Linked DNA regions of Homo sapiens: regions 1, 2, 3, 4, 5 and 7 are each linked to region 6. Evidence: promoter capture Hi-C in 16 types of primary human blood cells and fetal thymus (Javierre and others, 2016). All regions are on one chromosome and are shown on one strand. The core of a region is centred on a gene start or on the middle of the fragment in contact, and the rest is flanking DNA. Distances in the headings are between cores, read along the strand shown. Region 1 overlaps PIK3R4 (phosphoinositide-3-kinase regulatory subunit 4). Region 2 overlaps ATP2C1 (ATPase secretory pathway Ca2+ transporting 1). Region 3 holds the start of COPB2 (coat protein complex I subunit beta 2). Region 4 holds the start of FAIM (Fas apoptotic inhibitory molecule). Region 5 overlaps DBR1 (debranching RNA lariats 1). Region 6 holds the start of ANAPC13 (anaphase promoting complex subunit 13). Region 7 holds the start of ARMC8 (armadillo repeat containing 8).

Region 1 (2,817 bases), core at 242-2,741, 3.7 Mb after region 6:
GTAAATGTTTATGTGTGCTCAAGGTCGTGTGTGTATATGTGTGGCATTTATTTCCTGCAAAACCTGAGTTAGCAGAACCCTGGGGTACGTTTAGCTAGTGTATACTTTGGTCTGCTTTTCTTTAACATCTGTGGCAAGGTTTCTTGTTGCAGACCAGCGAAGTTTGCACCTTCTTTTAGCTGGGTGAGAGGGCACACTGGAATTAGGCAGGAAGTGTCCAGGAGTTAACTGAATTTTTAGATCTTAGTTTGACCTTTTCAGTTTTCAGTTTTTCTTTTTTTTTTTTTATTTTTTGAGACGGACGGAGTCTCGCTCTGTCACCCAGGCTGGAGTGCGGTGGCGGGATCTCCACTCACTGCAACCTCTGCGTCCTGGGTTCAAGCAATTCTGCGTCAGCCTCACGAGTAGCTGGGATTACAGGCACCCACTACCACGCCCGGCTAATTTTTGTATTTTTAGTAGAGACGGGATTTTAACCATGTTGGCCAGCCCCGTCTTGAGCTCCTGACCTCGTGATCCTCCCGCCTCGGCCTCCCGAAGTGCTGGGATTACAGGCGTGAGCCACCGCGCCCGGCCAGTTTTAAGCTTTTAATGTGTCTCTTTCTTATTTCCAAGAAACTACAGATTCTTGGACAAGAACTATGTCATATGGTAACTTTGTAATTCTCATAGCCCCAAGCACAGCACGGAACACATAGTAAAGGCTCATTAATATTTTAAATTTAAATATGAGAAAATAACACAAACTAACATTTTTGGCTTAAAGTTGAAGAGGCCTATCTAAATATAGTTCAGCTCCTGGAAATGGCGATGCGCAATAGCAGGGTATTTTTAGGTAAAATAACAAGGTCTTCTTGGAGAAAATAACATGGTCTTTTTAGATAAATGTGTGTGAAATTTAGAGGCTGCCCCAGAAGGCTAGGTACAGTGCTGTTAGTGGAAGAGAAGTATGCTGCATCTGTCTTTTTGGAAGAGACCAAATAATGGAATAATGGTGTTTCACAGCTTCTTTGTTTCTTGTCTTTTTTCTTCATTTGTTTTTATTTTAAACAGGTATTATATCCTAACCTTACTAAAGACCACAGAGGTGCTTGCCATTATGGGAAATCAGCTTGCTGGCATTGCTCCCTCCCAGATCCTTTCTGTAGAGAGTTATTTTTCAGATATTCATGACTTTGAATATGATAAAAGCCTGGGGAGTACTCGGTTTTTTAAAGTTGCTCGAGCCAAGCACCGAGAAGGCCTGGTCGTTGTGAAGGTTTTTGCAATTCAGGATCCCACATTGCCTTTAACCAGCTATAAACAAGAGCTGGAGGAACTGAAAATCAGGCTTAATTCTGCACAGAATTGTCTACCTTTCCAGAAAGCATCAGAAAAAGCATCTGAGAAAGCAGCTATGCTCTTTAGGCAGTATGTGCGAGACAATCTCTATGATCGCATCAGTACCCGTCCATTCTTGAATAACATTGAGAAGCGCTGGATTGCTTTCCAGATCCTGACAGCTGTGGACCAAGCACACAAATCTGGAGTTCGTCATGGGGACATCAAGACTGAGAATGTGATGGTCACCAGTTGGAATTGGGTTCTTCTAACTGATTTTGCCAGTTTTAAGCCCACTTATCTTCCAGAAGACAACCCGGCAGATTTCAATTATTTCTTTGACACATCACGGAGGAGAACTTGCTATATTGCTCCTGAACGTTTTGTTGATGGTGGGATGTTTGCCACTGAGTTAGAATATATGAGAGATCCTTCAACTCCGCTTGTAGACTTAAATAGCAATCAGAGAACAAGAGGAGAGTTGAAGAGAGCAATGGACATCTTTTCAGCAGGTATTTGAGTGGGTCACATTTGCTAAGGGAGCATGTGTTTTTCTTTTAACTGTTAAACAGAAATGTGGCTTTTTTTAGTCACCAGATATTGAAAAGTTAATGTCTTGGTTTGTCCTCAGACGCTATTTCAGTTAGAGGCAGCATTCCTGCATTGGATATGTTTAAATGCCTAGGAAATGCAAACAGCAGTTTATTTACACAAACATATAAACATATTTGCTTGCCTACTTTTATTGTATGTGTCAGGCACTGTCCTAAGTGCTAGGGATATTGGTGGATAATATATTTTCATAATGCTTCCATTTTAAAGTGACCGTGGATATTGCAAAAGGACATTTCAATGCGGTGTTGATTGCTGTGGTGGTGATAAGCATAGGGTGCTGCTATAGGAACACATAGATATTTAAATTAGTCCTCATGGTGGTGTTGAGTCAAGAGGTGGGATCAAGAAAGGCCTCTTTAATAGAAAGATGATATTTACATTGAAACCTGAAAGTTGATTGGGAGTTAACTTTCGTAGAGTAGTTTGTTTCAGGCAGAGGATGTTGCCTATACAGAAGCTTAAAGACCAGAATATGATGCACTGATGTGTTTTCTGGAACACAGTGTGAATTAAGCAAGGCCCAAACTCAGCCAGATCAGAAAGGGTCTGGCCTGACTGGAGCATGGAGAGTGAATTTTGCAGGGGAGCTACACAGAAGACAGGAAAACAAGTTAGGAGAAAACTGCCACAGTCCAGGTAAGATGATTGTGACCGGCTTAAGATTGTGGCAGAGTTGGAAGGAGTGGAGAGAAGTGGTAATGCTTAAGAGATAATTAGTAGATAGAATTGTTAGGATTCTGTCATTGGAAGGTGAAGTCACAGGAACTTCTCTCGCCCACCAAACTGAGTGGATGGTGATGCTGGTCCCTGAGACAGGGAGACACAGGAGGAGCAACAGGTTAGGTTGGGAAGATGATGAGGTCTGTTTAAGATATGGTAAGT
Region 2 (2,861 bases), core at 105-2,604, 3.6 Mb after region 6:
AGTGTTTCTCAATCTTGGCACCATTGACATCTGGGGCTAAAAAATTTTGAGGGTGGCGGGGGGAGGTAGAAGATGCTGTCTTACGGATTGTAGCATGCTTACCAGCATCCCTGGTCTCTACACACTGGATGCCAGTAGCATACTTTGAGTTGTGACAACCCAGCATTTCTCTAAACATTGCCAAATGTCCCCCGGGGGCAAAACAATCCTGAGATGAGAACCACTTAGAAGGAAGAAGCCAGCATTTTCATTCAATTGACAGTAGGTACGTCCCAGAGTCTGTTCAAGATGAATAAAGGACAAATTGAGGTCTCTGCCTTCAAGAGCTCACTTTGAATCCTGGTGCTTGATTTAACACCTCTCTCCATGCATAGCTATATGAGCCTCACATCATGACAGTCTGACCTATATATTCCCTTCAGCCAGCCCCTAAATCGGCTCACTCCTTCAACCACAATCAATGGCACCTTCACTGACCCAAATGACATCTTGCAGTCATGTCTGATTCAACTATTCCCTTAATTCTCTGTATCTAGTCACTGTCCAAGTCCTGCTGATTTTTCCTAGGAGTAAAATATCTCTGTCATCCATCCCTACCCTTCATTCCCATTACTCTAATATAGATACAAACCACACTCCCTTTATCTTCTAACAGATGAAATCAGGAGTAACTAATCTCTCTTGGCCCCTCATATGAATTAGGGGTACATATCAAGATATAATAACTGATCTACCAACTTTTAGGATAGAGGGCTGGCAGACTTCAGAGCAGTCCCCAATGACCACATCTTTCTCTGGGGTGGGGAGGGATGCTGGAATTTCTCATCTGATACTAGTTTCATAAGCCAAATATTAACTCTTAAGTAAACAGTAACCCTCACAAGCATTAAGAAAAGGACACAGCAGAAATTAGTTTGCATACCACTACAAAGTGGTTTGCATGCTATTTCTGGCATTTGTGCCATGAACTGCTTTTGCCTGCTTCAAAAGAAGGTAGAACTGACACTCAACAGAGCAAGTAAGGTACAACTCCCAAGCTTAATTAAGCCAACTAATATTTCCACCCCTGATGATGTAGAAACCTAGATGAAGGCAGGTAAAGCAAACATGCTGCTAGGGAAACACTAAAAATAGATGGCCAAACAAAATCTAGTGAAATGCCTGCATACAAAGAGAGATATAAATCTCATATATAACATATACAAATAAAATCACAGCATCAAAAGGCTAATTTATTTATACTACAAATGAAAAAGGCTCCGATTTAAGATGAGAGGAAATCCAGGACCTGGTTCAAAGTTGGATCTTGCCCTTAGGCAGAGAATAACAGAACGTTTATGTACTAATGTACTAATGCTCTATTCTTTTTAACTTCAGGACACCATAACCAAGATAAATTTCTGAAATTCACAACTTAACCAAAACTTTTAATTTTTACTTTGCGTGTTTAAATTTTCAAAAAAACACATTTACATATTCAAAAAAAAAGTCTGATGAGTGACATCCTAAATATTTCCACTTATTATTTCTGAGTTTTCCTATAAAAGGCTGATGGCAAATATATTTATTATTTAGGGTCCTGCTTTTTCCAACTTTATCAAGCTGTTTTAAGTAAGTAAATAAATAAATGAAAGTAATTTCTATAAGGATGCATCAATATCTCAAAGCTTTCTAAAAGAATAAAGAATGTCATACTAAAGCTGGGCACGGTGGCTCATGCCTATAATTCCAACAATTTGGGAGGCCAAGGCAATAAGACTGCTTGAGTCCAGGAGTTCAAGACCAGCATGGGCAATATATCAAGACCTCGTCTTTAAAAAAATTAAGAAATTAGCTGGGTATAGTGATGTGTGCTTATAATCCCAGCTACTCAGGAGGCTAAGGCAGGGAGATCGCATTAGTCCAGGAGTTAGGGGCTTTGGTGAGCTATAATGATGCTACTGTGTCCCAGCCCAGCCTGGGTTACAGAGTGAGACTCCATCTCAAAAAAATAAATAAATAAATAAGCACAAAGGGAAAAAAAAGGATGTCATACTAAATTAACGTATTTCCTTCTGAGGGAGGGACACGAGTTTAGGTCAGCATGTTTACGAAATGACCAAATGTCAAACCAAAAGGCCTTTACTTAAGAAAGCAATTACAACTAACAGGTATATTAAATAATTCCAATTCACACATTCTCTAATACCTATAGCAGAATTAAAAAAAGCAGAGATAGAAATTGAATCAGACACCCAGTTACGGCCATCTTAAGATAATGCTTCTGACCCCGACTATTACTGTCTTCTGTCTATAATCTAGGACAGCTTTTCAACATTTCATTCAAACTTTTTCTAAACACATCACAGGTTTAGTCTAAACCAACCTAATTTAACACAATTGGTGTAATTTATTTGTAATTCTACGATTTATACTTTTGTCGTAGCAACTTAAAGCCTGAAGACAGAAGATACACAGTTGACTCTTTAACAACATGAGTTTCAACTGTAAAGGTCTACTTATACTCAGATTTGCTTCTGTCACCCGAGACAGCAAGACCAACCCCTCCTTTTCTTCAGCCTACTCAAAGCGAAGACAATGAGGATGAAGACCTTTATAGTGATCCACTTCTGCTTAATGAATTATAAATATATTTTCTCCTCCTCATAATTTTCTTGGTAAGTTTTTTTCTCTACTTTATTGCAAGAATACAGTATATAATACATATAGCATACAAAGTATGTGTTAATTGACTGTTTATGTTATCAGTGAGGCTTCCAGGCAACAGTAGAGACTATTAGTAGTTTAGTTTTCAGAGAGTTAAAAGTTACATGCAGATTTTCAACTGCATGGTGGGTCAGCACCCCAACCCCCACATTGTT
Region 3 (2,882 bases), core at 32-2,531, 4.9 Mb before region 6:
CCACATGTTTTCTTAAAAAAAAAAAAAAAAAGGAAATACAGGAGATGTGCAGTGCGTGTGACAGGCAAATGTTCTCGAACTTTATTGTGTAGTGTAACCCCTATGGCACAGGCCCTTAGAATTCAGCCACATTAATGAAGAGATATTTTTATGTAGTAGAAAGAGCACAAACTTTGAGGTGTTTTGTTTTGAGACAGAGTCTTGCTCTGTTGCCCAGGCTGGAGTGCAGTGGCGCGATCTCAGCTCACTGCAACCTCCACCTCCTGGGTTCTAAGCGATTCTCCTGTCAGCCTCTGGAACAGCTTGGATTACAGGCGCCCGCCACCACGCCAGGCTAATTTTGTATTTTTAATAGAGACGGGGTTTCACCATGTTGGCCAGGCTGGTCTCGAACTCCTGACCTCAGGTGATCCACCCGTTTCGGCCTCCCAAAGTGCTGGGATTACAGGCGTGAGCCACCGCGCCCGGCCCAACTTTGAGGTTTTATCTGCCACTTACTATGCAGTCTTGGCTAGAACACTTAACTTCTTTGAGCCCGAGTTTCCTCATCATTAAATGGAGATAATTCAGGTTTGATGTGAAGATTTGAGAAGAAGGTATGTCTGACACACTGCCGAAGATCGATAAATATTTGTTGAATGAATAACACAGCCAGCCGAAGCTCAACAAAAGACACATACACAAACACACCCACACGGTTGGGTAGTTGCCGTCTCCCGGGGAGCTCCAGAAGTGTAAGCTCTCAGCCCTCCCTCTGACTTCAGAAGCCTGAAGCTACTAAGCCCGCAGCCCGGTGCGTCTCTTCGCAGCCTTAATCAGTGCCCGGGCAAAGGCCTGCAGAGAATTCTCTGGGCCTCGCACCAGGCCCCAAGAACACACTGGAGACTCGTTTCGCCTTCTCCCTCGCCGTTTCCCCCCTCCAGGGCCAGAGTCCGAGGAAGCCCGATAGCGGTTCTCGGCCTCCGAAACACAACTACAACACTGGGGAGCTTGCCCTGCAGTTAGCGTCCAGCGGGGATTAGGCACTTCGTTTTCCTCATCGTTTCAATCTCTATCTTCTGGTCGGGGTCCAAGCTCAGCGGCACCACGTCACGGCCCTTAGTGGTCTAGGCCACACCCCTCCTTCCCGACAGCCTCAAGTCCACTACCAGCGGTCTGGAAGGCCACGTTGCCTAGGAAACTGGGGCGGGGCTTGGGAAACGACGGCCCTGCGCGCAGTTTGCGCAGGCGCTCCGGCCCTGGCCTCTGACTATCGCGAGAATCGGCTCCCGGAAGTTCCACGTCAGTCAGTCTGACGGTCAGTGGATCGGTGGGTTTATCTCAAGGCCTGAGTAGCCGGTAACAAACGAGGGTTCCCGGGATTGGACCGACGCAGCCATGGTAGGTCCAGATCCCGTAGAAGGGAGCGGGGTCCCATAGGTTACGGCCGATTCCTGGAGCTTCTGGACTGAGGGCCGCGGTAAGCAGTGGTCTGGGCTCCCGCTGCGGCCGCCGCCTCAGGCCTTGCGGGGTCTTGGTCGTTTGATTCCAGGAAGGGAGAAGGCGGTGGGGCCTAGGGGACCGGGGTGATTTGGGGAGGCAAAGCCTGCTAGTGAGGGGTTTTGTCTCCCCTGGCGCTTGTGGCGCTTGCCAGAGCTCCTGCAGTCTGCAGCGGGATCGGTGGTGTAGGGAAACACAGAAGCCGAATGTGTTGAACTCCGTAGGAGGCTTTGGTAAAACTAAAGTTTGCCTTTAAAACGGTGGTAGTTAATCTACACTCCTGTTGGGCTTATTCTGGGGATAGTGTGTGCTGGCTACAAACTATAAACAAGCAAAGAAGCCAAAAACAAATGTATATGGAGTCAAAAATGGAATTTCAAATGCTTTGATATCTCAGCTGTTAGGTTTCTAAGGGGAGAAGAAGGGTTGGGAGGAAGGGGGTGCTGTTTATAACACTGGCTGGTGTGCTTTTATGCATTTGCAAATCCAGTGGCTGGTAAGAATAGTAATTGTTAGAGCACTTTGTTATTATCACCGTAACCCTAAAAAACGCCCTAGACTAGTTTGCACAAGAGTGTTATAATAATAAGGAAAGAAAACGATAGTATAAGAATATCTTCCGTCTCTATTGAAAATGCAAAAAAAAAAAAAAGAAATTAGCCGGGCGTGGTGGCGGGCCCCTGTAGTCCCAGCTACTCAGGAGGCTGAGGCAGGAGAATCGCTTGAACCCGGGAGGCAGAGGCTGCAGTGAGCCGAGGTCGCACCACTGCACTCCAGCCTGGGACAGAGCAAGACTCCGTCTCAAAAAAAAAAAAAAAAAAACTTGTTATGAAGCACAGAATCAAACATTTTGGAGCTTGAAGACGCTAGGGATTAAGTCCCTCATCTTAAGTTAAAAAATTTTTTTAAATTATGTTTCTACAAGGTTAATTGTGGCAAAGTTGGAACTAGGAAAAAGTTAGGAATACTCCCAGGGAAAATGCACAGAGAAACAAACATTTTTGCATAAAATTCAGTGCATTCATTCACAGACACCCCCCCCCACAATCCATGGACCTTCTTTTTTTTTTTAATTTGTTTTATAAAAAATATGGAACGCTTCACGGATTTGCGTGTCATACTTGCGCAGGGGCCACGCTAATCTCCTCTCTATGTGCTGCCGAAGCTAGCACTATCCGTGGACTTTCTTGGGCACCCAGGTTACAGTCCCTGAACAAGACCTCAAGCCTCTTAATTAGAGCACTTCGTATTACTAACTACCTGATGTAGTTTGGGTCTGCTGTGGTTGCAGTAATGGACGTTTTTGGAAAAGGCTCTTGGATCTGCCTAATTTCATTTTCTTTTGCCGTCTTTACATTTACCAGTGTATTTCTATAATGAAATATTGCCTTCATTCTTTATAT
Region 4 (2,700 bases), core at 18-2,517, 4.1 Mb before region 6:
CCGGCCCCTTATGAAGTGAGGGGGGTCTCCAGTAAAATCACTCAGGAAGCTCCTCGAGCCAAGTATTCCCAAATGCTACTTACTGGAGGTACAAAAAGGAGAATAACTTTTCTGAGGGCCATTTCACAATCTATACCAGAAGCCTTGTGGTATAGACCGTGGATTCTATCTTGTTTTAGAACGAATCTTGTGCGATTCTTTCTACAGAAATGATCACGCTCAAAAACCCAGATACAACGATGCTCAATGAATTACTTTTTGCAATAACTAAAAACTGAAAACCACTTGTACGCTCACCATCAGGGAGAAACTACATTTAGTAAATCACAGTCCAAAGCCATGCCAAGAGTCAGGGATGGATGAGGTAGTCAACCTGACACACAGGAATGTACAGTCGAGAGAGAGAGAGAGAGAGAGAGAGAGTCGAGAGAGAGAGAGAGAGAGTCGAGAGAGAGAGAGTCGAGAGAGAGAGAGAGAGAGAGAGAGAGAGAGAGAGAGAGAGAGTTTCAGCACTTTATGATGCAGGTTCTGCAAAAACAAGCCCCGCTCATGTTACAAGGAAAAACCATCTGGAAGAATATACACCCTCATGTTAACGCAGCTTGTCTCTGGGGAGCAGCGGCACGGCTGCTTTGCTTGCTTCCTTGCTTTCTGTTCCACGTTTTCGACAGTGAGAAGTATTATCTTTAGAGGTCGCGAACAGGCCGGAGGAGGGTGCGGCAGGTCGCGGGGCAGGGCCTCGCTAGGCAGGGACGCCCCCGCACCGCCCCGGGCTGGCCCCGCGCCCCGCGCCCCGCCGCACCTCCACCTTTGCCGGCGGTGAGCGGGAGCCGCGTCCCGCCCCGAGGTCTGGGATCACCGGCGGGCCGGCTGGAAGCGTCCGGAACTCACCCAGCGTCTCACCCGCGCGGGTCTCACCGACCGCGCAAACACCGCCCGCCGCCGCCGCCCAGAGATGGCCGCCGCCGGCGCAGCAGGGCCGAGAGCGTGGGGACGCCGGGGGGCTGAGTGCAGGGGTTTCCAGGGTGCGGAGCGGGCGGGCCCGAGGCGTCCGGGCGGGCGCAGGCGCGACACCGACCCCACCCGGTCTGCTGCCTCACCTGTGCTCTGTGGGCCGCGGGAGGCTCTGGGGTAGGTTTCACCAAACAACCGGTTGGTTCCGACTCGGCTGCGTAGGCCGCGTGGCCTTGCTCCCCTGGCCGAGAAACAGGCGCAGCCGGCGCGGAGGTTGAAAGCTCTGCAGGCGCGAGTACCAAACGCGCCGACTGTTTGTCGCGCCTCTCAGGTCCCCTGGGGCGACCAGCGCAGGAGGCCACCCCTCCCGCCGCCACGGACCCAACCCTGGTCCTCTGCCTTAGCCGAAGGCCGCACCCTCCGCGCATAGGCCTTCCTCAGCCCCAACCCAGGACATCACCATGTCCCGCAGTGCGTCCAGTCTTCCTGCCAGCAAGTGTGGGTAGGAGCCGGCCGCTGGCCCCGCTCTGGGCTAGACGGTGGGGACATACTGGCGGGCAAAAACAGCCCTGTGCCTGCTCTGCAGCTATGGGGAAGGAATATCTGTTCATGGCAGCAATAGCATTCGCTCCTTAAAACCTCTTTATGAGTCTCATTCCTTTTTTAAAGACCCAAACTACTTAAGGTGGGCATGAAGCCCCCATGTGTGATCTAGCCTCTGCCTGCTTGGCTTCATTTAGGTCCTTAAAGGATGCAGGTTTCTTCTCGCCCAGGGCCTCTGCAAATGCTCTTCTCTCTGCCTGGACACTCCTCACCTCTTCCCTATTGTGAGAGTTCTTCATATATCATTTCTTAGATTACACTATCCTGGCCCATAAGACTTGCAGCATTGCTGGGTGTGGTGGCTCATACCTGTAATCACGGCATTTTGGGAGGCAGAGTGGCGGATCTCTTGAGTCCAGGAGTTCAAGACCAGCCTGGGCAACATGGTAAAAAAAAAAAAAAAGAGAGAGAGAGAATGAGAAAGAAGAAAAGAAAATAATTAGCGGCTCAGGCCTGTAATCCTAGCTACTTGGGACGCTGAGGTGGGAGAATTGCTTGGGCCCTGAAGGGAGGTAGAGGCTGCAGAGAGCTGTGATTGCACCACTACACTCCAGCCTGGGCAACAGAGCGAGACCCTGTTTCATTAAAAAAAACACACACAAAAAGAAACAGCCGGGCTCAGTGGCTCACGCCTGTAATCCCAGCACTTTGGGATGCTGAGGCAGGCATGGCAAAACCCCGTCACTACTGAAAATATAAAACTTAGAGGGGCGTGGTGGTGCATGCCTGTAGTCCCAACTACTTGGGAGGCTGAGGCAGGAGAATCGCTTCAACCTGGGAGGTGGAGGTTGGAGTGAGCTGAGATTGAGCCACTGCACTCCAGCCTGGGCGAAGAGCAAGACTCTGTCTCAAAAAAAAAAAAAAAAAAAAACAGCCGGGCACAGTGGCTTACACCTGTAATCCCAGCACTCTGGGAGGCCAGGTGCGGATTGCCTGAGGTCAGAAGTTTGAGACCAGCCTGGCCAACGTGGTGAAACCCTAGCTCTACTAAAAATACAAAAATTAGCCGGGCGTGGTGGCATGCGTCTGTAATCCCAGCTACTCAGGAGGCTGAGGCAGGAGAATCACTTGACCTTGGGAGGTGGCAGTTGCAGCGAACTGAGATCGCCTCACTGTACTGCAGCCTGAGCCACAGAGTGATAC
Region 5 (2,959 bases), core at 251-2,750, 3.7 Mb before region 6:
TAACTTTTTAAAATCGTATATATTGAAGGTGTACATGATATTTTGGAGACCTGTGTATATGTCTTTGTATTTGCAGTATTTAAGGAAATTAAATATAGCTTATTTTTCTGCTTCAATCTAAGGTCATTTTGAGTGCCCCCCTTATAATTCATCTACAATCAGGAGTATATATCATGTGAGAAATATTGAAGTCTATAAATTAAAACAGGTACGTAAAAAGCGCATTACAGCAGACTTGAAAACATTTTAAAGTAATTCTGTGCCAAAATGTATTTTGGTCATATTGGTATACTACTTTCAAGAAGAGCAATTCTGTATTTTTAAAATGTGGATCTTGAGTTTTTAGGAGGTTCACAGATGAACCTTTTTTTTTTCTTTTTTTGAGACAGAGTCTCACTATGTCACCCAGGCTGAAGTGCAGTGGCGCGATCTCGGCTCACTGCAACCTCCGCCTCCTGGGTTCAAGCAAGTCTTGTGCCTCAACCTTCTGAGTAGCTGGAACTATGGGCGCACACCACCACACCTGCCTAATTTTTTGTATTTGTAGTAGGGATGGGGTTTCACCATGTTTGCCAGGCTGGTCTCAAATTCCTGACCTCAGGTGATCCGCCTGCCTTGGCCTCCCAAAGTGCTGGGATTATAGGTGTGAGCCACTGTGCCCGGCAAAATTTTTTTTACTTCAATAATTACGAGTTTATTTTAGTAAGAATGAAAGATTTAATTCATGATTTCAAATATTACTTAGGTTAAGGCTAAAGAATACCTATTAAAGTGATATTTAAAATAAAATGTTAAAGTGATATTTTAAAGAAAATATTGAAATAAACATTTTATTTTATGTAATAGTAATTAAGTAATGGTATTAAATAGAAAATAAGTAATAGTAAAGATGATAGAGGAAATGGGAAAATTGTGAAGGTGGTATGGAAACACTGCTTAATTGCAGAGTAGGTGAAACTAGGTTGTTTGAGAACCCATTACATGGCTGACACTGGGCTAAACAGACTTCACACTTGGTATTTCATATAATCTCCACTCAAACCCTATGAAATAGATGTAACTCTTAACTTCATCCCTTTAAGGATGAGAAGCCAAGGCTCAGACAGGTAAGTAACCTGCCCAGGACTTCCCAAAGTTTAGTGGTAGAGCCTGCCTGACTGCACTCATGCCCATCACACTGTCTCTAGAGCCTCTGCAGGAGTCTAACAATTCTTGCAAGTGTTTCTTTTATGCCCTGTGCATACAGTTCCCTTAAATAGATTTTCTCTTTCACCTATCTAAATCCTACCAGTCCTTTAAGACCCAACTTAGATGCCATTTCCCAACCATGAGTTTTCTTCTTTTTTTTTTTTGAGACAAGGTCTCACTCTGTCACCCAGGCTGGAGTGCAGTAGTATGATCATGGCTTGACTCACTGCAGCCTCAATCTGCCAGGCTTGGGTGATCCTCCCACTTCAGCCTCCCGAATAGCTTGGACTATAGGCATGCATCACCTCGCCCAGCTAATTTTTTTCATATTTTTTAGAGACAGAGTTTCGCCATGTTGCCCAGGCTGGTCTCAAACTCTTGAACTCAAGCGATCCTTCTGCCTTGGCCTCCGAAAGTGCTGGGATTACAGGCATGAGCCACCATGCCCAGCCAGCCATGACTTCTCTAGTTTAGAGTCATTACCCTAGTTTGAATTTTTGTTGCATCTGTTGGCCATACCAGTTATTCAGTGGTTAGTCATATCTATCTAATATCTAATATTTTGTATTGTCTTGAGCAGTTATTTAAGTTTTTTTTTTTTTTTTTGAGACAAAGTTTCACTTCTGTTGCCCAAGCTGGAGTGCAACAGTGCGATCTTGGCTCACTGCAACCTCTGCCTCCTGGGTTCAAGCGATTCTCCTGCCTCAGCCTCCTGAGTAGCTGGGATTACAGGCGCCCACCACCACGCCCGGCTAATTTTTTGTATTTTAAATAAAGATGGGGTTTCACCATGTTGGCCAGGCTGGTCTCGAACTCCTGACCTTCAGGCGATCCACCCACCTCGGCCTCCTAAAGTGCTGGGATTACAGGCGTGAGCCACTGTGCCCAGCCGGTATTTAAGTTGTTTTAATTTCATTTTTCAAGTATTCGTTTCAGATTACTTGAAGGTTCTGGGGATAAGTAAAGTCTGGAGTATATTTTGTTTCCTTAAGTTGTTTAATGAAATACTAATTTATGTAGTAAACACAGTTTTTTAGTGTATACTATGTGAGCCTATTAGAATTTTTTTTTTCCTGGTAAATCTTTGGGTTTACTGAATCAGTCATGTTAGAGGTCTCGTGAAATCTAGTGTCTCTGGATCTTCAAAACAGTAATTTCTTTTTTCTTTTTTTTCTTTTTGAGATGGAGTTTCACTCTTGTGGCCCAGGCTGGAGTGCAATTGCATGATCTCGGCTTATTGCAACCTCCACCTCCTGGGTTCAAGCGATTCTCCTGCCTCAGTCTCCCTAGTAGCTGGGATTACAGACAGATGCCACAACGTCCAGCTAAATTTTTGTATTTTTAGTAGAGATGGGGTTTCACCATGTTGGTGAGGCTCGTTTCGAACTCCTAACCTCAGGTGATCCACCTGCCTCAGCCTCCCAAAGTGCTGGGATTATAGGCGTGAGCCACCGCGCCCGGCCCAAAATAATAATTTCTTTACCAAAGAGGAAAAGAACTATGGTTATCGTGTATTTTAGAAGCTAAGTGCTAAAGATCTTAGATGACTGGCAGTCTAATCAGAGTCTGTCTCCATTGCCTTGCCTTGCCACTGAAAATAAGAATGATTTATGAGCAGAGAAAATGCAGCTTCTCTTTGCCTAGATGAATGAGTTGCCTAGTATTTTTATCACTCTCTTAAAGTGTCCTTAGAATGAATTATACAGAATTCTAGAGATCTCAGTGGGTGAATGGTTGTATGGTGGTAGAGAGAAGGGAGGGGATTGTTTTG
Region 6 (2,700 bases), core at 113-2,612:
TTAGTTTCAGAGCTTTTTACTACCCTGATCACTGATAATGCCACAGTCAAAAAGCAAACTCAAAATAAAAATCAATCTAAAAATGGTACTGCATGCCAAATAAGAAAATATATACACTTTATCATTAAGCTACAGCTAACAGAAATCTAATCAACGATCCTTATGATTTCCTCGTATCTAAAAAATAAATGCAAGCACTTGAGGAACTGTATAAATACAGGGCATCTACCCTACAATACTGCTTTATTAAAATAATAAATTCTTTTAATAAGTTTAACCAGACATAAGGCTCAGGGAAAACTACTCTGTGCATATCAGCGTACGGTGCTGAAACTGTAAAAGACGACCTGTCTCTGACATCATACTCATCTTTACTCTCCTGATGTCGTAAGGGACGTAAGAAAAACCACATTATAAGCCTAAATGTACTGTCTTCAAGTATCTCCATGATTAAAGTGTTCCTAAGAAACCGTCCTTATTTCTTTCTATCCCTCATTTGTGTGCATGGAGCCGTTAGTTCAGGGTTCTCCAATTTCAGTCCACGATTTATGCCACATTTCCGTACCTCTTGTACTAACATAACCGTTTAAACCAACTCACTATTTTAAAAGCTGCCAACCTTAACATGCCACACTAAATGAGCGGGTCCCCTTGTGCCGTGAATGAAGTAGTCCCAACAGCGCTAGCTAGACAGCAGCCCTGGCAGGGAGGCCGCACTGGGGTCTCTCCGCTGAAAAGGAAGGTGGGTCCGCCGGGGAAGGTGAGTACTGGGCGCAGCTCGCTCGCCCACCTGGCCACTCTCCGAAGCGCCCCCAGCCACCTGGACTCCGAGGAAGGGCTGACCACCTGGCGGGGCCGAACCCCACGCCGGGCTGCGCCACGCCAGACTCCGCCAGTGTGCAGGGCATAGCGGGCCAGGCCGAGGGACTGGGCTTCGGGGCGGACCCAAGCCGGCGGGGACGCGCCTGGTGGTTCGCAGGCCGTTGCGCAAACCGGCCGCAAGCCATGAGGCCGCGAAGCCAGAATCACCAAGGCAGCCTGGGCCGCCTCCAGACCAGGACACGGCAGCCCCTTGCCCCTCCAACTTGCGCACCGGCGGTTACAGGGTTGCCGCAAGCACGCCCCTGAGCCTTCCCGCCGTTACCTCGGGCCGGCGCTGCGCACGCGCGCCACCGCTAAGCTTACGTCCAGCCTCTGTAGTCGGCGCGTTTGTTCCGCCCACTGCCCCCACACTTTTAATAATTGAAACAATGCCTTCTCCAGACTTCCCCTGCACGCGAGCAAATGAACTCACCCACATCCGGGAATCCGAGGAAAGCGAGTGCAGACACGTGATGCGGGGGAGGGGGGGGGGGCGTGGCAGGAGCAAGCGTCTGCCGCGGTGGCCGGGTGCCGGTAAGGGTTTCCAGCGCCCCCGGCCTAGGTTTTGGAGGCGCGGGAATGCGTTCGTTGCTCAGTGTCGGACTTCCCCCTATTCCCATCGGCCGAGGCTGTCACTTTACGCTCATAACCGTTTTTCTTTACTGCACTCGTGTCGGGAGGAAAGGGACTTGCGTGGCACCCCCAGACCTCCCCGTCTCCGCTTCCACGTTTGGTACATCCTGCCTGAGGCAGGAAGCCGCAGCTGAGGGACGGCCTGTCGTACGGTGCGGATGGTGGTGGCCTGCGAGGCTCATTTCTAGCAAGGAACAAGGCTTTCCCGCTTTGATTTTATAAATATTATGTTTACAAAGCTGTAATATATAGAAATTGATAAGACGTGTCCCTGTCCCTGGAAACGCAGGCACCGCGTGTTTGGAAAGACATTCATCTGGGCTGTTTGACAGACTCCCCAGTTGGTGCCATGCTCTGTGCTTAGGGAACTGTGAGACCCCTGGAGGGGTGGGTACCGGGACCGCACTCAGCCTGGGGTTTGGAGGCGGCCTCCTATAGGAAGCGACCTGGGACCTAAGATTTTTAGACTGACTGTGGGTTCACTGGAATAAAAAGGAAGAAACAAAGAGCATTGCAGGCATCGGGACTGTCACGTGAGTAAGAAAAGTTTGTTCAGGAAACAGTGGTCGTACTGGGTGACGAGTACTTGGGACGGTGGCTTTAATACACAAGATAATCAGTGTGCCCTGGGCATTGATTATCTTGATGCTTCCCATCCTTCCAGCCCCTTATGAGGGAAGGCACCTTCGCGCCTAATCCCGGAAATGGGATGTTGACCTTCAAGAGCTGACGCCTGCGTTTATCTTGAAAGGAAGAGTGGCATTAGTGATGTGGAAAAGGGGGTTTTAACTGTCAAGGCTGGAAAATGTGACAGGGTTGGAGGTGTTTGGAGAAGGGACAGGTGAAAAAGATTGAGACCAAATGTGGAAAGATCTACTAAGGAATCATGGGTACAAAATGTACACGTAACAGTTGGAGGCAATAATACCTGAGCAATTGACCACAAAGCTGACCTAGCTTGTTTAGTAGATTAAGTTAGGACAAGAAGCAAGAGTTCAAGGATAGAAGGCCTACTGAAGCTCGAGTGATTTGAGAAAACTTTACAAAGGTGGAAAATCTACGTGGGCCTCCGAAAGTCAGGTTTGGATCAGCTGAGGAAAGTGAGAAGGGTATCCCAGGAGACAGAGCAGCAAGGACAAAGGAGTAGCAGCAGGAAAGTGGGGAGCACTTGTAAGACAGGGACTTCAAAAGTATAACCAAAACTTC
Region 7 (2,940 bases), core at 342-2,841, 3.7 Mb before region 6:
TTAAAAATAAGAAAAAATGACTGCTAAAATGGATCAGGGGAAAAATCTGTTGACAGCCTCACAAAATTATTATTGTATTGACAACTTAAGCCTTTTCAAGGTTGAGGTCTGCCACACTGCTCTAACCCTGAATCATAAGCAAATGTCCTAGGTGTTTTCAGATAGGTGAGTTTGTTTGTGGGACAAGTCAGAGAAGAGAAAAGAAACCGGTTGTAGTTACAAGACTCTAGGAACCCGACAAGTCATTTATAATCCAACTACCCTCTCAGTATCAGACTGGCTTCCACAAGTCTAAAAGATGGTCAATCAGTATTTGCCTGCTTGTTTCCAACAATAGCAAATGAACCATTGGTAAACTGACCATTCTCAGAGTCGGACAGCTCGAATTTGTTGCAAAATCCTTCGAAGTTATCTCCCAGTAACTTTCATTCCTGGTCCTGGTTCAAGAGCAACATAGTGAAAGGTGAAAGTCGTCTTTTTCTTTAAAAAAACTTTTTTTAAAAAAAAAAAAAACAGGTTTTACTTCCTGGCATGTCAATACGTTCCCTTCTTTCAACAATGGGGAAATAAATCTCACCCCCTTTTCCCCCCTTCAATGTTTGACTCCCCTTAAAGAAAAACGGAATACCAGGCACAGGGAACATAGAGTTCCTCTGACTCAGAGCCGCGACCTCTGAGCAGAGCGGAGGAAAGGGGCTTAAAAAACCACACACACTAGGAAGAGTTGCAGCTGATACGAATCACCATTGCCAAAAAGCAAACTGCTTCAGCCGGTGCCCAGGTGCTGGGACGCGATAGAAGCCGCACAGACTTGGCCTGGCAGCTCTGAGGAAATGGGGGCCAAGGAGCCTGCACCTCTTCTTGCCAAAGCCCGGGAGAGCTGAGTGGGCGCTCGTTCTCAGGCCGGCTGCAAGCCCGGCGCTTCACAAGGCAGAGCGTTCGGCCCCCGGGAAGCGGCATCGCTAAAAGGAAGGCTCAGTGAAACGCTTGGCAAAGTCCAAGCCGCGCCGCCCAGCCAGTTGTCTATAAGCCCAGCCACCCCGCCTGCCAGACGCCATCCTGGGAACCCGCACCGGCGGGAGCTCCCGGAGTTGGAAACGTCTTTGGCTCGGCCGCGGTCCCCTCTGCCCGTCTATCCCGCCTCTCCACCCTCGCTCACTCCCTGGCCCGAGACTGAGCCGGGGTCCACCCCAGGGGGTGGTGCCCAGGAGGCACACCACGCTTGGGGGAATGGTGGAGACCGGGATGAGGCTTCCTGGAGGGCGGGCGGGCGGCCGCGGCGGGTCACTCACCGAAAGGACGCTCATGCGGATTGGGGTCTCCAACAAGCACGCCATCTTGAGCCTTCCCACCCGGCTGCTGCAGGCGCCGGCGCGGGGGCCGGCACTTTCGACAGCCAACTATTGGCCAACGCTAGGCACCGCTCCCTAAAGGCAGCCAGATAGACGAGAACTGGCCACGCTCTGGACACCGCTCAAGTACCGGAAAGGCCCGCAGAAAGAAGGGCAAAAGGGAATGGCGTCAGGGGCTGTCCTACGAATCGTTCTCTCAGAAACAGCAGCTACTCTGAGCCTGGGTTAGAGGTGGAAGCGGGCAGCGGTTTCCGCATGCGCAAAGAAGATCTGCCGGCCCCACCTGCCGCTCGCGGTGGGCGGGGCCCCAGAGGCGGAGTCTCGCCCTGACGCTACGAGTTTTACGGACTGATAAATTGCAGTTTATGGATTCCAGTATTCATATTTGGAAAAAGTAGTACGTGGAGCCACATACATAGTTTGAAGTTCACTTTCATATTCATTCTCTCTCTCTGCACCAAACTCCCGGCGTCGTTATCTCCATTTTATAGGTGGGGAAATTGCGATCCCAGAACCTTTGCCAACCGTAAGAGTGATTGTTTCACGATCCGATACAGATACGTGACTTGCCTTAGCGTTGTGTGCCGGCCCCGTTTATTCTGGTGTAGTGTTAAGAATAGCCAGAATGCTTGGGTTTCTTCCTAGCTACTTGATTTATCAGCTGCTTTACCCTGGGCAAGTTATCTAACCTTCTGTTTGAGTTTCCTCATCTATAAAATAAAGGTTAATGAGGATAGAGGAGTCAACAAACGTGAAGCTCTCAGAAAAAACCTAGAACATAGAAAGCGTTATACAATATGTGTTAACATTTCTCCAGCTTCTGAGTTAAGTGGGGAAAATGGGGGCAAATATCTAAATATTTCGCACTAAAACACTCTCATAACCGAAGCTAAATAAAAGTATGCTTTCAATTATACTTGATTAATTCAGCTGTCCTACTACTTTGTGTGTGTGTGTGTGTGTGTGTGCAACACTGCCCTTGACTTGGTTGGATAAGTTTCACCTTCGTACTGCTTGCAACCAGTAAGGTTTTCACAGTATGGTTGCAATTGGCCTGTTAACATTACTTGTATTCCTTCCATTTCTATAGCCACACCCTAATTCAGGCTCTTGTAACCTCTCCCCTGGACTACAGCAATAGCCTTCCAACTGGTCTTGTAGCTGGTAGCCTCTCCCGCACTCTGCTCCTCACTGTTTTCCTGTCTTCCTCCTGTACTTGGTTTCCAAATTTAGTGTAGCATTTACCACCCCTGCTTATGGGTCTGTGTTCCTTAACAAACTGTTGAATTCCTGGAAGGCAGGAATTTTATTTTAGGTAGTCCTTCTGCTATAATACTATTTCTGAAACTTGGGTAATCTGTACACCACCTACACAATCTTTGCCAATCTGCACCTAGGTATTATTATTCATTCAATATTTTTATTTAAAGCCAATTTCAACTCATTAAAAATTTTTGGCTTTATCCTAAACCATAATACTCTGTGAAATCAAGTTTGTTGTGCTCCTTATTTTTATTCTAGTACACATTAACTACAAAAAGTTTAAATGTCCATCCATGGACCACCTAAAATCACATCATGTACTGCA

What was found. Contacts are between HindIII fragments. The CHiCAGO score rates a contact against its expected background, and 5 or more counts as called.
Region 1: a fragment that was not itself captured here is called in contact with the fragment with the promoter of ANAPC13 in region 6 in 2 of 17 cell types (total CD4 T cells and non-activated CD4 T cells); the score reaches 8.4 in total CD4 T cells.
Region 2: a contact is called between a fragment that was not itself captured here and the fragment with the promoter of ANAPC13 in region 6, in 1 of 17 cell types (total B cells). The highest score is 6.1, in total B cells.
Region 3: the fragment with the promoter of COPB2 here is called in contact with the fragment with the promoter of ANAPC13 in region 6 in 6 of 17 cell types (total CD8 T cells, total B cells, total CD4 T cells and 3 more); the score reaches 11.1 in total CD8 T cells.
Region 4: the fragment with the promoter of FAIM here is called in contact with the fragment with the promoter of ANAPC13 in region 6 in 4 of 17 cell types (naive CD8 T cells, total CD8 T cells, non-activated CD4 T cells and 1 more); the score reaches 9.3 in naive CD8 T cells.
Region 5: a contact is called between a fragment that was not itself captured here and the fragment with the promoter of ANAPC13 in region 6, in 2 of 17 cell types (naive CD8 T cells and non-activated CD4 T cells). The highest score is 8.7, in naive CD8 T cells.
Region 7: a contact is called between the fragment with the promoter of ARMC8 here and the fragment with the promoter of ANAPC13 in region 6, in 2 of 17 cell types (total CD4 T cells and total CD8 T cells). The highest score is 6.3, in total CD4 T cells.

The regions. Positions count from the first base shown.
Region 1 is chr3:130,743,501-130,746,317 of GRCh38, reverse strand. It overlaps PIK3R4 (phosphoinositide-3-kinase regulatory subunit 4), which reads left to right. Exons shown (of 20, transcript NM_014602.3): 2 at 1,054-1,832. The coding sequence starts at 1,100. Among named protein-coding and RNA genes, the nearest start is that of PIK3R4, 1.9 kb to the left of the region's middle. The HindIII fragment of the contact is 1,807 bases long and covers 588-2,394 here.
Region 2 is chr3:130,899,199-130,902,059 of GRCh38, reverse strand. The region is part of intron 2 of ATP2C1 (ATPase secretory pathway Ca2+ transporting 1); the gene reads right to left. Among named protein-coding and RNA genes, the nearest start is that of ATP2C1, 6.5 kb to the right of the region's middle. RefSeq lists an enhancer at 826-875. The HindIII fragment of the contact is 630 bases long and covers 1,040-1,669 here.
Region 3 is chr3:139,388,046-139,390,927 of GRCh38, reverse strand. COPB2 (coat protein complex I subunit beta 2) reads left to right here and starts at 1,281. Exons shown (of 22, transcript NM_004766.3): 1 at 1,281-1,380. The coding sequence starts at 1,378. COPB2-DT (COPB2 divergent transcript) reads right to left here and starts at 1,125. Exons shown (of 5, transcript NR_121609.1): 1 at 995-1,125. It also overlaps the pseudogene LOC124906339. RefSeq lists enhancers at 444-553, 433-995, 764-1,063, 996-1,557, 1,354-1,603. The HindIII fragment of the contact is 7,530 bases long and covers 1-2,882 here.
Region 4 is chr3:138,607,338-138,610,037 of GRCh38, reverse strand. FAIM (Fas apoptotic inhibitory molecule) reads right to left here and starts at 1,267. Exons shown (of 6, transcript NM_001033031.2): 1 at 1,101-1,267. RefSeq lists an enhancer at 530-619 and a silencer at 720-1,179. The HindIII fragment of the contact is 4,797 bases long and covers 1-2,700 here.
Region 5 is chr3:138,167,356-138,170,314 of GRCh38, reverse strand. DBR1 (debranching RNA lariats 1) reads left to right here. Exons shown (of 8, transcript NM_016216.4): 4 at 123-208. Among named protein-coding and RNA genes, the nearest start is that of DBR1, 6.1 kb to the left of the region's middle. The HindIII fragment of the contact is 4,308 bases long and covers 1-2,959 here.
Region 6 is chr3:134,484,647-134,487,346 of GRCh38, reverse strand. ANAPC13 (anaphase promoting complex subunit 13) reads left to right here and starts at 1,362. Exons shown (of 3, transcript NM_015391.4): 1 at 1,362-1,395. It overlaps CEP63 (centrosomal protein 63), which reads right to left and starts at 1,290. Exons shown (of 15, transcript NM_001353108.3): 1 at 1,145-1,290. RefSeq lists enhancers at 358-1,176, 1,268-1,377, 1,458-1,557, 1,588-1,707. The HindIII fragment of the contact is 3,493 bases long and covers 1,183-2,700 here.
Region 7 is chr3:138,185,952-138,188,891 of GRCh38, reverse strand. ARMC8 (armadillo repeat containing 8) reads right to left here and starts at 1,591. Exons shown (of 22, transcript NM_001363941.2): 1 at 1,293-1,591. The coding sequence starts at 1,337. The HindIII fragment of the contact is 21,816 bases long and covers 1-2,940 here.